2 separate regions of the Homo sapiens genome follow, and region 1 is linked to region 2. Evidence: promoter capture Hi-C in human tissues and cell types (Jung and others, 2019). All regions are on one chromosome and are shown on one strand. Each heading gives the region's core, a stretch centred on a gene start or on the middle of the fragment in contact. The rest is flanking DNA. Distances are from core to core; before and after follow the strand shown.

The links. Contacts are between HindIII fragments. The study calls those that stand out against the background at their distance.
Region 1: a fragment that was not itself captured here is called in contact with the fragment with the promoter of FILIP1L in region 2 in 1 of the 25 tissues and cell types used here (aorta).

Annotation. Positions count from the first base shown.
Region 1 is chr3:100,160,424-100,167,292 of GRCh38, reverse strand. CMSS1 (cms1 ribosomal small subunit homolog) reads right to left here. Exons shown (of 10, transcript NM_032359.4): 3 at 6,792-6,863; 4 at 4,861-4,990; 5 at 899-958. LOC105374009 (a long non-coding RNA gene) reads left to right here and starts at 6,589. Exons shown (of 5, transcript XR_007095984.1): 1 at 6,589-6,869. The HindIII fragment of the contact is 3,751 bases long and covers 3,211-6,869 here.
Region 2 is chr3:100,110,511-100,117,710 of GRCh38, reverse strand. It overlaps FILIP1L (filamin A interacting protein 1 like), which reads left to right and starts at 3,210. Exons shown (of 6, transcript NM_001387850.1): 1 at 3,210-3,658. All of the region lies in intron 1 of CMSS1 (cms1 ribosomal small subunit homolog), which reads right to left. The HindIII fragment of the contact is 15,087 bases long and covers 1-7,200 here.

The DNA.
Region 1 (6,869 bases), core at 3,837-6,336, 48 kb before region 2:
TACATTTTCTTTTTAGTTCTCATAATCTAGTGAGTTTGATTCTATTATTACCTAGATTTACATTTTCTGAATTTGAAGCTGAGAAAGGTTTATGAACTCAAGTTGAGTGTCATCAGAATTGCTTGTAGTTTGAAAGAAGAATGGAAACTCCCTATATCTAAACTATTTCATTGCTGGCCATGAATAAATGAACAGTTGATATGAATAATTTAATTACTGCTGGCTACATATAATACATATTGAAGGGCCAGACACAGTAGCTCATGCCTGTAATCTCAGCACTTTGGGAGGCTGAGTGGGGAGGATCTCTTGAGCCCAGGAGTTTGAGACCAGCCTGGGCAACATAGAAAGACCCTGTCTCTACCAAAAATAATTAAAAAAAAAAAATTAGCTGCTTGTGGTGGCACACAACTATAGTCCCAGCTGCTTGGGAGGCTGAGACAGGAGGATCGCTAGAGCCCAGGAGGTTGAGGCTCCACTGAGCTGTGACCAGACCCACTGCACTCCAGCCTGGGAGATGGAGTGAGACCCTGTCCCTCTCCAGCCTCCCAAAAAATAAATTTTGAAAAGATAAAATTAGATTGACTTCACAATAGCCATGGTCTGAGTGGTAAACATGCAAACAGAATTTCAGAATCTCACAGATGGAACACATATCACATAGTCCATCTTCCTTATTTTTCAGATAGGAAATTAAGTCCAGGGGAGTACTCAGTGACTCGTCTCAGGTCAAACAGCAAATTGGTGGGGGACCTGGGACTAGAACACCATTCTCTGGATTCCTAGAGCAATAATGGCCTAATGTGTTATAAAACAAAAACGAGACCAAAACCTAAATTCCCAAAACCAGAGCAAAATAAGAATGAGTTTAAATAGATTAAAATCAGAGTTTACTTACTTTCTTTTAGGTATGAGGAAAGACTGTGAGTCAAATCATTGGCCTTGAGGAAACAGGAGTCTAGAAATATAATAAACATGCTTTGTAGATAATTTTGTAAACACACACACAATCAAAACAGATTATATGTGAGTTATGAGTGATGTATAAGGTTGTAAAATATTAGTGAATTGGGGGCCCATTTTATATCTTAAAGTGTTGCCTATATTTAAAATAACAGCAGCAGCAACAAGTAAACTTTTAACCTGTCACGGAGCTGCCCATAATTTCTTAGAGCAGTGAAATAGGAGCTTCTTACATCACTCAGCAGATTTATGAAGCAACTTTATTTTCCAAATCCATAAAATAGGGACTACACAAATGCAAAATGAAGTGGCTAACAAATCTATGTAAACATGTTGAAACTCACTAGTTATCAGAGAAGTGCAAGTTAATATAATGAGCATACTTTACACACTCATTAGAATGGCAACTATTAGCAATATGTATAATACCAAGTGTTGTTGAGAATGCAAGTTGATGGAAACTCTTGTGAACTGTAAGTGGAAGTATAAACTGGTATAGATATTCTGGAAAGTAATAATATTAATATGTATATACCCTATAATTCTATCATTTCAATTCAAGGTAAATAATAGAAAGAAATTCTTGCATGGTCTATTAAGGTACACACACAAGGATATTCATCCTGACATTATTTGTGATAGCAGGGTGCTTGAAGCAACCTAGGTGTCCATATCTGGGGAAATGGATGAGTATATGTGGTAGATGGAAACGCTGGAATATTATGTGGCATTTAGAAGCAATGAACTAGATATGCATAAAATTACTTAGTCATATCTGGAAAAAGTGTCAAGTGAAGAAAGAAACAGAACGAAAGCATTAGCACAAAGCCATTTTAGATACATTTTAATATGTATATACATACACAGGATGACATATTTTATAAGAATATATATATATTTTTAAAAATTCCTATCATATGAAAATAGAGTTTGGATTAGGGAAGAATGAGAATAATGTCTCAAAATACAACACAACATAACAATACAATAAAAAACAATATAACACATTAAAATAAAACAGGGGCTGGACTGATCAAAATGAAATTTATGTTGTGACCCAGCACATATAACTCATTAAGTGAGTAATTCAAAGCTGTTTTCTCCTATATTGTTGTGGAGCCTTTGGTGGTCTTTATAATGTCCCAAGCCTGGATATGATCAGACTCACCTGGAGAACTGAAGATACAGATTTCTGGGATGAAGTCTCTTTTGCATAGTGAATTAGAATCTCTTGGGGGTGGGCCTGGGAATCTGATTTTTAAGAAGTTCCTGGGTGATTCGGTTGCAACTAGCCTATAGGCAATTAGGAATCACTAATCTAAATCACACTGCAGCTCTCAGGAGACAGCAGAGAAGTTAATTAGCTCCGGGTGACTCCAACCTTGAAATCCTAATTAAGTGCCCATGTGTATGACATTAACAATGTACAGTGCACAATATTAATTGAAAAGACATGTTCCTGCCCTACAGACACAAACAACCTCAAATCAAAACCAAGTCAGAGGCTCGACAAACTAAATAGGAACAGTATGTTATTATTTATATCTACCTTATATGTGTATATATAAGGGGATTTATGTCCCTCCTTGAGCCTATTCCAAATAACCCACTGTATCTCCTTCCCCACATCTAGCTTAGATCTATTCTCTGTCCTTGGTCTCATCAGTGTAGTGACCAGGGCCTGTTCTCTCAAACCTTCCTCTGATGTCTCAGTTTATTGTGTCTTAAATGGCCTAATTTTTTTAACTAAAAATAAAAACCTGTCCTTTTTGGTTATAACGTTATTTCAAACATATTTTCCTTCCTCCCCAAACCATGACCACACATTCTTGCCTAACTATATTACTGAACTCTAATAAAACAATAATACCAAACAAATTCACTATGGAACTCAAATGACTCCTTAAAAGTTTCTTCTGAGCTTTGACTCTCTCTAACTCCAGAGAGGAGCAAGGTTTACGATGTTCCATGAGGTTACAGAACAGCAGTGGTCCCACTGCTCACAAATCCTTCCTAAGTTCAAGTTGCTCTAACAAAGAACTAGAATGGAAAACTGACCATTGAGTCACAGTAAAAATTAAACTTCAGTTAAAGCTTCAAAAGTGGTTTTGTTAGAATAGTTCCTGTGATAGTGCAGTCAGGACATAGTTTTCACAGCAGAGGCCGTGGTGTGCTGAGAAGAGTGGATTATAACTGCTATTGGAACTGTCTGGGCTTAGTAAGTCTAAAAGTCCAGATCCTGCTCATGTGCAAATGCACTCCTTCAATTCCCTAAAGGGTAATCTCCTTGGAAAACAGACAGGGCACTCATGTCTCCAAACCCAATGTGTGTTTTTGAAAAAGGATATCACAAAAGAATTATAAAAATTCAGGGAACAGATTGTTTTTCAGCTTCTCAAGCTTCTAGAAAGCATAAAGTTGTAATGGAAAACGGAAATCAAGCCACCCTCTACTTTTTCCAAAAGCAATATTAGATATGCCTAGTAGTCTATAAATAGCTCATCTGAAGCAGTTGTACCCAAACTTTTATGGTTTGATTTTATGACAACATCTATTTCCTCCCATCCCTGCCTAAAAGAGTTAAAGGATGCATTATAATTTTGAAATTAATTAAAATTAGTTGTTTAAGCTGGGTATGGTGGCACGTGGCTATATTCCCAGCTACTCGGGAGGCTGAGATGAGAGGATCCACTTAAGCCCAGGAGTTCGAGGCTGCAGTGAACTACGATGGTGCCACTGCACTCCAGCCTGGGCGACACAACAAGACACTGTCTCTAAAATAAATAAATAAATATTTTTAAAAAATTAGCTGTTTAAATTTTGTAATATCTTTTAGCTTAATTATAAATACACTAAGGCAGAGGATCTAAAATTCTAGTAGGCCTAAGAATCCCTTGAGGCAAAGTGTCAGCCTCGCAAAACATACAGAATTTTGTTCCTACCTTTTGACAGTTTGCTTGAAAGAGTCTGGCCTGCAACCTAAAATACTATTCTAAAAACCATGACTAGAAATCCATAATAAGAGCAACAACAAAACTAAATTGCTTATTAAGGCTAAAGTTCTTGTCTATAATAGTTGAGTAAATCAGTGTTTCACATCCATACTTTTAAATGTGTACTTCAACTTCTATCCTCATGATGAATTCCTACTCATTGAATAGTTTGTTAAAAATGCACACCCAACAATTAACCTTTTGAATAAAAAAATACAATCACAAATCTTAATATTAGATTTGACAAATACTGTTTAGCATCCAGTAAGGATATAATCTATCAGTTAAAACTATTTGATATAATCTATCAGTTAAAACTATTAGATTGAGGAAAAGAAGTATTATGTTTCTTTTTTTTCTTTGAGATGGAGTCTCGCTCTGTCCCCCAGGCTGGAGTGCAATGGCGTCATCTTGGCTCACTGTAACCTCGGCCTCCCAGATTCAAGTGATTCTTCTGCCTCAGCCTCCCAAGTAGGTGGGATTACAGGCGTGTGCTACCACACCCAGCTAATTTTTGTATTTTTTAGTAGAGATGGGGTTTCACTATGTTGGCCAGTCTGGTCTTGAACTCTTGACCTCAAGTGATCCACCCGTCTCAGCCTCCCAGAGTGCTGGGATTATAGGCGTGAGCCACTGTGCCTGGCCTGAAAGTATGTCTCTTTAAACAATTATTATTATTATTCTTATTTTTAATAGCGATGAGGTCTCACTGTATCGCCCAGGCTGGTTTCAAACACCTGGGCTCAAGCGATCCTCTAGCCTCAGTCTCCCAAAGTGCTGGGATTATAGGCATGAGCCACCATGCCCGCTGGAAAATGTGTTAATTGACTGCCTGAGACACCTAACCATAACAGATACTTATGTTTTGCTCCTTGTCTTTAGGAAAATTGAAGCTTGGCTATACCTGGCAGGTTCAGTTCTTCTAATTCAATCACCAAGCGTCTGCTGCTATAATAGTCCTTCATCAGCTTCTGTAGGTCTTCAGGTAACCCTGGTTTTGGTTCTGATTTTGCAAGAACATCAGTAATTTTCTTCTAAGATATGAGAAAGAAGAAAAATGGGACGACATATTTTAAAATGGCATTTGGTTGGAATAGGTTAGTTCCTCTGGCATTTAAACGGCACATAGCTTTTGGTGTTAGCCAAGTGTGAATGTGGGTTTTAATAAATACATTTGAGAAAATTCACTAAATACTTCTTGGACATAACTATTGCTTTGAAAAATGAAAAAATGATCTAGAAAGCTCCCTGTAACTCTTGGTCTATGACTTCCAAGATAACTAAATTTTTGCAGGCATCTCCATACTGGGGTATTATTTTCTGTTAAAAGTAAAGAAATCTCATTGCTATGGAGAGCTCTCTTTTAGCCCTAGATGATTTATATTCCTGTAGGATTAGAATTTTGAGAATTTCTTGCCCAATCTGGTTTTTGAGGTGCTGAGTCTTAGTTTGGATTTCTGTCATTAGTGTAAAACCCGCAGTAGGAATCTGAGCATAGGGGCCTACTGAGAAGGGGACTTAACACCCTCGATTCTCAGGTCTTGGATAACTGATGGTATTAAAGTGGCCCTATGCAAAGTAGAAAAAATATTACAGGAAATACTTTCCAACATCGATTTTGATTTGGACTCATTTGTGTAGCATGTATTGAATGCTGCAGTAGTAGAAACCCACAATCATTCATTTATTTCCATCATAAGCTTCCCTTCTCACTTCCTTCTAATGTTCCACCAAAGATCCAGAAGGAGCATTCCCCACCCCTGACCCCAGATTTTCCCCCTCCTTCTACAATATCCTCATTTCTAGACACTTGCCAAGAATGGTCAAGCCTCTGTCAAAGAAATTAACTTTTAAAAATATGTCATCAGTGGGCACATTTTAGTGTGACCTCAGTCAAGACTAAACTATCTAGCTAGAGTTTTGACCTTGAGCCACCAAGAACTTAACACTCCAGAAGGCCATTAGTGTACAAATTATCAAAGCGAAGTTAAAGTCACTTATTTAAGGACTTGCCAAACCTCAGCCAATTTGGCATCTCCCATTTTCCTATTTGGCCATTTGTAAGAAAAGAAAACATATGCACACACACTCTCAGTTTTCTAAAAGCTTGCTGTTAAGTAATAGGTTTGAGTCCATCTTCTTTCCTCTAATCCCAATCGTATTTCCTCGGCTGACTTCAGCAGCAGACCCCTCTTGGCAGGGAGAGAATTACACTGCTGTTTTCACAACTGTGGGAGAAGGTCATAGCTAACCATACTTTCTCCAAGGCTGAGCCATAAAAAAGTTTGTATATGAGAAAGAGTCTTTCCTGTGCTCACCAGCAAATATCAAAATGCAAGGTAGGGGAGCTTTTTTGACCTAATTTATGGTTCCAAATTAGTCAGAAGTGCCTCATACTACCTTCATCTGCTTATTATTTTCTTTTTATTCATACTTTAAGGTATAAGGTCTTAAAATCCGGAATGAATAGAAAAAGGAGGTTGGTATATTTCTTTTCATGGACAGAGCCAGAAGGGCCGGGGGAGGATAGCTCTGGACTCCTTCTAGAATTAGAAATCTATGTCTGACATCTGACCACACTGAAAACATAGGGTGGGTAACAAAGATATTTGGCACTCCACAGGACTGAAATAGGAGTCAGAAGAATTTATTCTTAGCTCCAACAGAAACACTTATTAGTAGTGACCTTAGGAAAGTCACCAAACCTCAAAGAATCTTACAATGTCTGCATCTCTTAGGTGGGGATTACAATAGTTGCCTCAAGAAAGTATGATATATAAAAATGTGATGGAAACCATGTGGGGCCATACAAATTTAAGAAATTATTAATATTACCTTTCTTCTTTTCCTGGTCTTGGTGGTATTCTCTTTTCTTTCCTTTGGTTGTATCAAAAAACATTCTTTAGGCTATTA
Region 2 (7,200 bases), core at 1,961-4,460:
CAACCTGTAATCAATATACACATTATTACTGAGATATTTTACATTAGTTGTTTTCTAATGTCTTTGAGATCTGCTGTGTATTTCATAATTACAGCATATCTCCATTTGAATTAGCCACACTTTATGCTCTTAATAACCATACGTGGTTAGTAGTTAATGTACTGGATAGCACAGTTCTATAGGAGAGTTTGCATTCAAGATTTTAAAAATCATGATTCCTTCTGGATGCCACCATGATGAATAATTCCACCTTATTTTTTTCTCATATAGCCCTAGTGTTTAGAGTTAGGCCTCGGAAGTCAGACTAAACTAAATGCAGATCCCGGTCTCTTACTAATTATCTCAGTGATGTTGGAAAGATTACTTAATCTTTCAAAACCTCAGTTCCGTTTTTTGTAAAGTTGGAAAAAAAGACTATTTCTCCCATAGGGTTTCTGTCTGAATTAAAATCAAATAACATAAATAAAGTGCTCAATGTACTTAATGTAGTGTTGCCAAAGTGTGACATAATAAATAGCAACTATAATAAAAATAATCCACTAGATTATAGGTTCACAAGGGCAAGGGCTACGTCTATCTTTCACAGTGTGCCTGACACATGGCAATTATTTATTTATGTGAATAAATAATTGAACTCTTCCCTCAGTCTTTATAAACTTTTGTTTCCATGACATCTTCACACCTTCACAGAGATTGCATGATGATTTCTAATACCTACCTTGCCATGAAGATACAGATACTTTATGGTATAGAAAGAACATGAAACTCTTATTCTCATCATTTCCTTCTTTTTTATTTAAAAAATTTTGACTACTTCCTTTCCTTTTCCTTGAGAAATCAGGGATGATGGGGCCAAAAAGACTAAGGGCCAAAGGGGCCCTTACCCACAGGGGCAATGAGCAAATACATAAGTATTCTGAGGATAACAGAAACCACCTTATCCTCACTGTTGGGGAAAGGAGTTACAAATATGGAAAGGGTTAAAAGCCAGATTATGTCTATGGTGTTAGATTGGAAATGCAGCTATCAGTGTGATCTCATAGTCTTTAATATAAATAGACAGAGCAACAGATATAGGCGCGCGTGTGTGTTTGTGTTTCCTAGCCTATTACCTGAAAGGGCCTGGAAGCAATGAGCTCACGCAATCCCCAGATCTTGGTTTCTAAATACCATTTTCCATAATGGATGGAGGTCTTCTTGAAGATATGGCTAATTCCAGAGTTGGGCACAGAAAGTACAAGATGCTTATGGAACATTTTCTTGTGCCAGAAGGTAAGAAAGTACTCAGAAAAACATGAGGACCACATCTGAGATCATTTGAGCATTAAAATAAATAATGATATTAGTGATTTATAACTCATTCAATAAAACAGCAATTTATGAGCTCATGTTGATATAAATAAACACAAAAATAAGTGAGGAGAAGGGAATGCTCTTCTTCACTCTAAGAAAGTTTATTTAAGAGCAATATGTTTACCTAGTCTCCAAGTATCTCCCCACAAAATATTTATTAACTGCAAAAGGAAAAACCATAATTTTACAGTAAATCTAACAGATACCACCTTAAGCAAGTGGGTTTGGTTACAAGACTAACTCCGTTTATGTGACTCCTGATATGATTAAGAAGAATACAGCATTGTTTCTGTAGTATTCCTGCCATAAAAATACACAATTTCAATCTCACAATGAGGAAACATCACACAAATCTAAACTAAGGAACATTCTACAAAACGTACTCTTCAAAAATGTGAAGGTCACATATAAAAAAGGAAGATTACAGAACTGTTCAAGATTGAAGGAACGTAGAGACAAGGCAACTAAATGCAACACATAATCGTGGACTAAAAAACCATTTTTTTTCTATAAAGGATATTATTGAGACATTTGGTGAAAAGTTGAATGGGATCTATGGATTAGAAAGTAAAGTTGATTTACTGAATTTAATTGTTATACTGTGGTTATGTAGAAGAGTATACTTACATTTTTAAGATAATCACACTAAAGTATATAAATTAATTCAGAAAAAAATATACACACACCAAAATAAACTCACGGGTGGAAAGGAGGATGAGAGAGAGAGACAGAGAGAGAGAGAGAGAGAGAGAGAGAGAGAGAGAGAGAGAGAGAGAGAGAGACAGAGAGAGAGAGAGAGAAAGAGAAAGAGAGGGAGAATACAACCAGTGGTAAAATGTTAAACATTGGAGAACCTTAGTGAAGAGCATATGGAAATTCTTTATTATTCCTGTATTTTTTCTATAAGTCTGAAATTATTTTGATGTTAAAAATTAAAAATAAAGAGCATGGGCTTTGGAGTAACTCAGATTCAATTTTGAATCCTCAGTCTTATATCTATCATCTGTGAGATCCTAGGAAGTTATTAAATTATTCTGATCTTTGGTTTTCTCATTAGATCACCAGGAGTAGGACTAATTTAAAGGGCTGCTGTGAGGATTAAATTAGATAATGCATGACTTGAGCACTGGGCAGGTGGTAGGCATGTCTGGTAAGTGATCTGATACATAATGGATGCTGAAATATATATTTGTTGAATAAATGAACAAACTCCTCCCTTCTATCCAACCCCTCAATCTGAACAAGTGATCCTACTTAAAGAAAATTAGATGCTTCAAATTTTAGCAATCCTAAGTATGAAGGTTTTCTTAACACTTGAATAATATAAAACAAAATGTCAAATAATAATAATAAACATACCACCATGCATTCCGATGTTGCTCTAGAGTTTCCTCAGCACTTTGCCCTCGTGTCTCCTGTGACACTAAATGGAACAGGCAGGCATTCAAGTTTGAGTCCAACACAGCGTTAATAATAGCGAATGTTTACAGTGCCTTGGGTTATGGGTGTCAAAGAAGGGGTCATGCCCTTGTTACTTAAATCACAAACAAGGCTTACATCAGCTCATGGCTGCAGGGTACAAAATGAGGTGCAATTTAATGTCCATCTGGGCATCTGTTCCTAAGGTGCTAGCACTGCTGTCTGTGGTTCACAATATATCTGGGGTAGCAACACAGCAAAGAATGGGACCCAGGTTGTGCTTGGGAAGTTTCTACTCTCAGCCAAGATGTGCACATGAATTTAAAATTACCTAAGAGGGTGTTTCAGAGTTGCTGGCCAAAGAGTGGTGTCTTCTAATCTGGAGAGCAGCTGCTGGGCACAGGCATGCAAACACACATACACAGACACACACACACACACACAGACGTGCTCACGGAGCCTGTGCCTGCCTCTACTTGTCTGCTCTGCGCAGATGGTTCCTGGCTTTTGGGTCACCTCATCCTGCAGCCCAGTCCAGTTAGAACCTTTCTTCCACAGAGACTGGCAAGCTGTGGGGTAAGAGTTTTGGTAAGGCTGCCTGTCTTCAGAGCATGAAGGACACTGCCCGGAGAGGGAAGAGGGCAATATTTAGTGTTTGGGCCTACTTGTTGTTGGGCTCCCCACTGCCTCTCCTTTGCAGAGCTATCACTGGCCCCTGGTTGCAAACTCTCGGTGGCTTTCAAGCCTACAAAACAAAAACTGAGAGGGTGTCCAAAAAGAGAAGAAGAAAACGTTGTTGTTGGTCCTGGATTCCACTGTTGGATTTTGGTGGGGATGAGAAGAAGGAATTACCAGGTGTGATCAACACCTGCACGGTACCTGCACGGTAAGCTAAGTGTCCCCATCCTTGCTGAGAAGAGGCTTTGGGATGTTTCTGTGTTATTCACCAGCTAGGAGCGGCCAACACCACTCTCCAAAAGTAGGATCTTGTGAATATTATGCAAGGGAACGTAGTATGATTAAGAGCTTATGACAGATGATGACTTTTAGGCTAAAATGACTAAGAGTTGCTTGCAAAATAGAGGAACTATCCTGACAGTAGGTAAGTTTTACTATAGTGATACACATGAAAGAAAACCAAAATGAAACTTTAAATTGTTATCCTGTTAAGAGTAAGATGGATAGTCAAAAATTAAAGAAAAAGTATGTTTGGATAAATGGCTTTCCTTCTTAATAGCTTGATTTTGTAAGCTGATGTGAATGATCAATATACAGTGTCAAAATCATCACAATGTGTTGAAAATGGAGAATTATACTGAATAGGTTAAATTGCAGAGGAGGAATTCTCTTTTCATGGAAAGATTAATGGAAGAAACTAACATTTTCAAATGGCAACTATATTGTATCTTTTTTCTTTTGTTTGTTTACCTTCTGTTGATGTTAAGATTTAATGAATGAGAGCCAGAGAACAGAAGCAGGTTTCTGAGATAAGGTTTTTGGCAGGTCTTGGGAGATACCTATCAAGAACTTGTTCTGTAACACCCCACAGAAGATGACTGGATATCCATGGGCACATCACATCTGGATATAAATGGGAAATGATGCTAGGCTGCTGCCAAATGATATCACAGAAAATTCTGCTCACTGTACTCCTCAATGGGAGGATTATTCAATGTTTAGGGTGGCTGCACAGTTTTGTATATAGGCGCTCCACTGAAGAGAGATATGTGTTCAGTTAAAATGGTTGTGACATATTCAGTTATTCTTTTTTCTTTCCATACCAATTAATGATTACATATCTTTCTTTATTCATTATCTGTTCACATCTCAGGAAGGAATAGAAGAGGTGCAACACATACACTGTTTAACTACACTACCATATTCCACGTGTGTATTAGATATGCATAAAGGAGAACATGGTGTAGTTAATACTAGAGAGAATGCATTGCAATTACAGCAATGTTCCTTTAGCTACAGTTAAACTTGTTTTTCCTGTGATGACATTTTCTGATTTATCAATCTGCTATCTCCCAAAGCCAAATATTCCAAGTAAACATTTCTCTACATTTATCAGTTGACACTATTATGAAACTCTCATTATGCTTAATTAAAAATCAGCATAAATACTGTAAGAGCTGTTTGTTAATAAAAACTTCTAAAGGCAGCAATAATATTCATGGGCTCTTTCCACCTGGGTAATTAAGGTCTACTACTCTGATGAGAATTTTCTCAGTAATTTCCCAAAGCAATGTGGGGTTTGGATTCTTATACTAACCAATACAAAGATACTCTGTAAAAGTTCTGCAGCAAAGAAAAGCATTCATTATTTAAAGAGTGACAATTTATTTTTAGAGTTTACCTTCTATTAAAGTTCATGTGTAATTGTCTTTTTTGCTTAAGCTTTATTTAAGCAATAAATTAGCAATAAATTTAAGTAATAAATTTAGTCAAGACTTGGTCTTAGGTAGTGGCGCTGGCACTGGAAATGAAGATATTTTATTGTGCCATTGAAATGATGGTGCCTTTAATAGAGTGCTATTGTAGGAGACTGCCATTGCAACTTGCCGAGAGTCAGGCAGGTCCAAGGATGCAAAAAACCTAAATGTAATGGGCTCTATCTTCTTTTCTTCTGATTACAGTCCATATTATTCTATGTTCTAACCTAAAGCAAAATTTTCATTACCAATGTAATACCCGCTTCACCTTTCTAATATGTTACATTAAAAAACATTTAAAGAAAAAGTGCTAGTAGCTTTTATTTTCCTTAGAGTAGAACTAGTGCCTACCAGCAATACACAGTAAGTTTGTTTAGTTATATTAGGGGAACACTTTTATAGTAATAGCTTAGTTTGTTTGCTCATTTGTTCATTCATTCATCAACTATTTTAGAATGCCTACTCTGTGCCAGGCCCCGTGCTGGTTATTGGGATTATAACAGTGAATGAGGCAAACATGGTCTCCAGATGCCCTGAGTGTAGGAATCTGCACAGAGAGTCTGATTACTAGTGATTTGAATCTGTGTATTGTGCATGTTGTTCAACATAGATATGGAGACAATTTTAGATACCATCTCAGCATCAAATAATTGAATTAGAAAACACATTTTAGTGCAAATACTTGAGCCTTCTTTGAGGGATGTTGACATTTTGGTGCAAGCTATAGATGTTAGACAAAAACTTTACATACTAATACCATCTGGTTCTTCAGAATTGGGTCAGACAGGAAGTCTAAGACAGAAGAAAATTTGTATTATAGCCTCTTAGAAGTCTAGGGTTCAAATCTGACAGTAGTTCAAGATTTTCTGTTTAATCTGATGGTCAATCACTGGAGCCTACACTGAAAGAGCAGCCCTACTGTGCTTCTCATCTTGGTTGAGGAGACTTTTCATAATGGCATTAACAATGTCATTTATACCTACAAGGTGTTTTATATTGTGTATAAAACTCGCATATCAATTACGCACTTGACCCTATGTAGTAGGAAAGGCAGGTATTACCATTCCCTGTTCAGCAGATAGATAAACTAAGTTTTAGATATTTAAGGGACTAGCCCAGCTAATGTTTTCTCTAACGCACAGCCTCATGGAGTAATCTCTTAAATAAAGTTCTAGAAAAATTCTGCATTTTCAACATGAGTACTCATAGCCCTGACCTATTGTTTGAAAGTGGTATTAGCAAACAGGAAAACATGCAGGTAGAGGAAAGTTTCACTCCTCCCCCTACCATCCTCTTTCTGCCTCCATTGCCCTTCTAGGTCCTTACCCTAGAGTTCTTCCTTCTGGCCCTTGAAAATTCAGTTTAGTTGCTAAAAGAGATATAAGCTACTGCCTTTTTCTTCTTCTTTTTGGGTGGAATGATGAAGTAGAATATGGCGAACTGGGCTGTAAAGCTCTGAATTGACTCCTATTATTGTAATGAAATAAAAAATTATTCTGAGTAATAAGATTTTAAAAAGTTTGTGACTGTTTAGGACAGGAACAGTATAGTATATTAGTATATCCACCTACATGCAAAATACAAATGGAATTTTACACTGCTGGTTAGTACCACCAGCCTAGCAACATAAAACATTGTCACATCAGATCAGACAATTTTCTACCCAGTCCAGATCCTGCTTCTGGTGCAAGCATAAGTAGGCTGTTGTGAAGAAGCAGTTTATCATGGGTAAGAGGAAAAATTCACAAGAAAAAATACTCTATATGGAAAAATGGTAAGCACAGGTAATGGAGAGCTATACAGAGCTGAGCAGAGCAGTGAATGGAGAAGGTTTTTCTGATGGATTTTGAGAGTTAAGCCACATAGCTAGTATTGTCTATTATTAGCTATGACCAAGCAAATACACGACTTTATTTCTTTTTTTACGTTCTTCCTGGAATTTCCTGTACATGTATTTAAAGTTTGTTGTAATTCCTTGGAGGCTTTTAGCTAC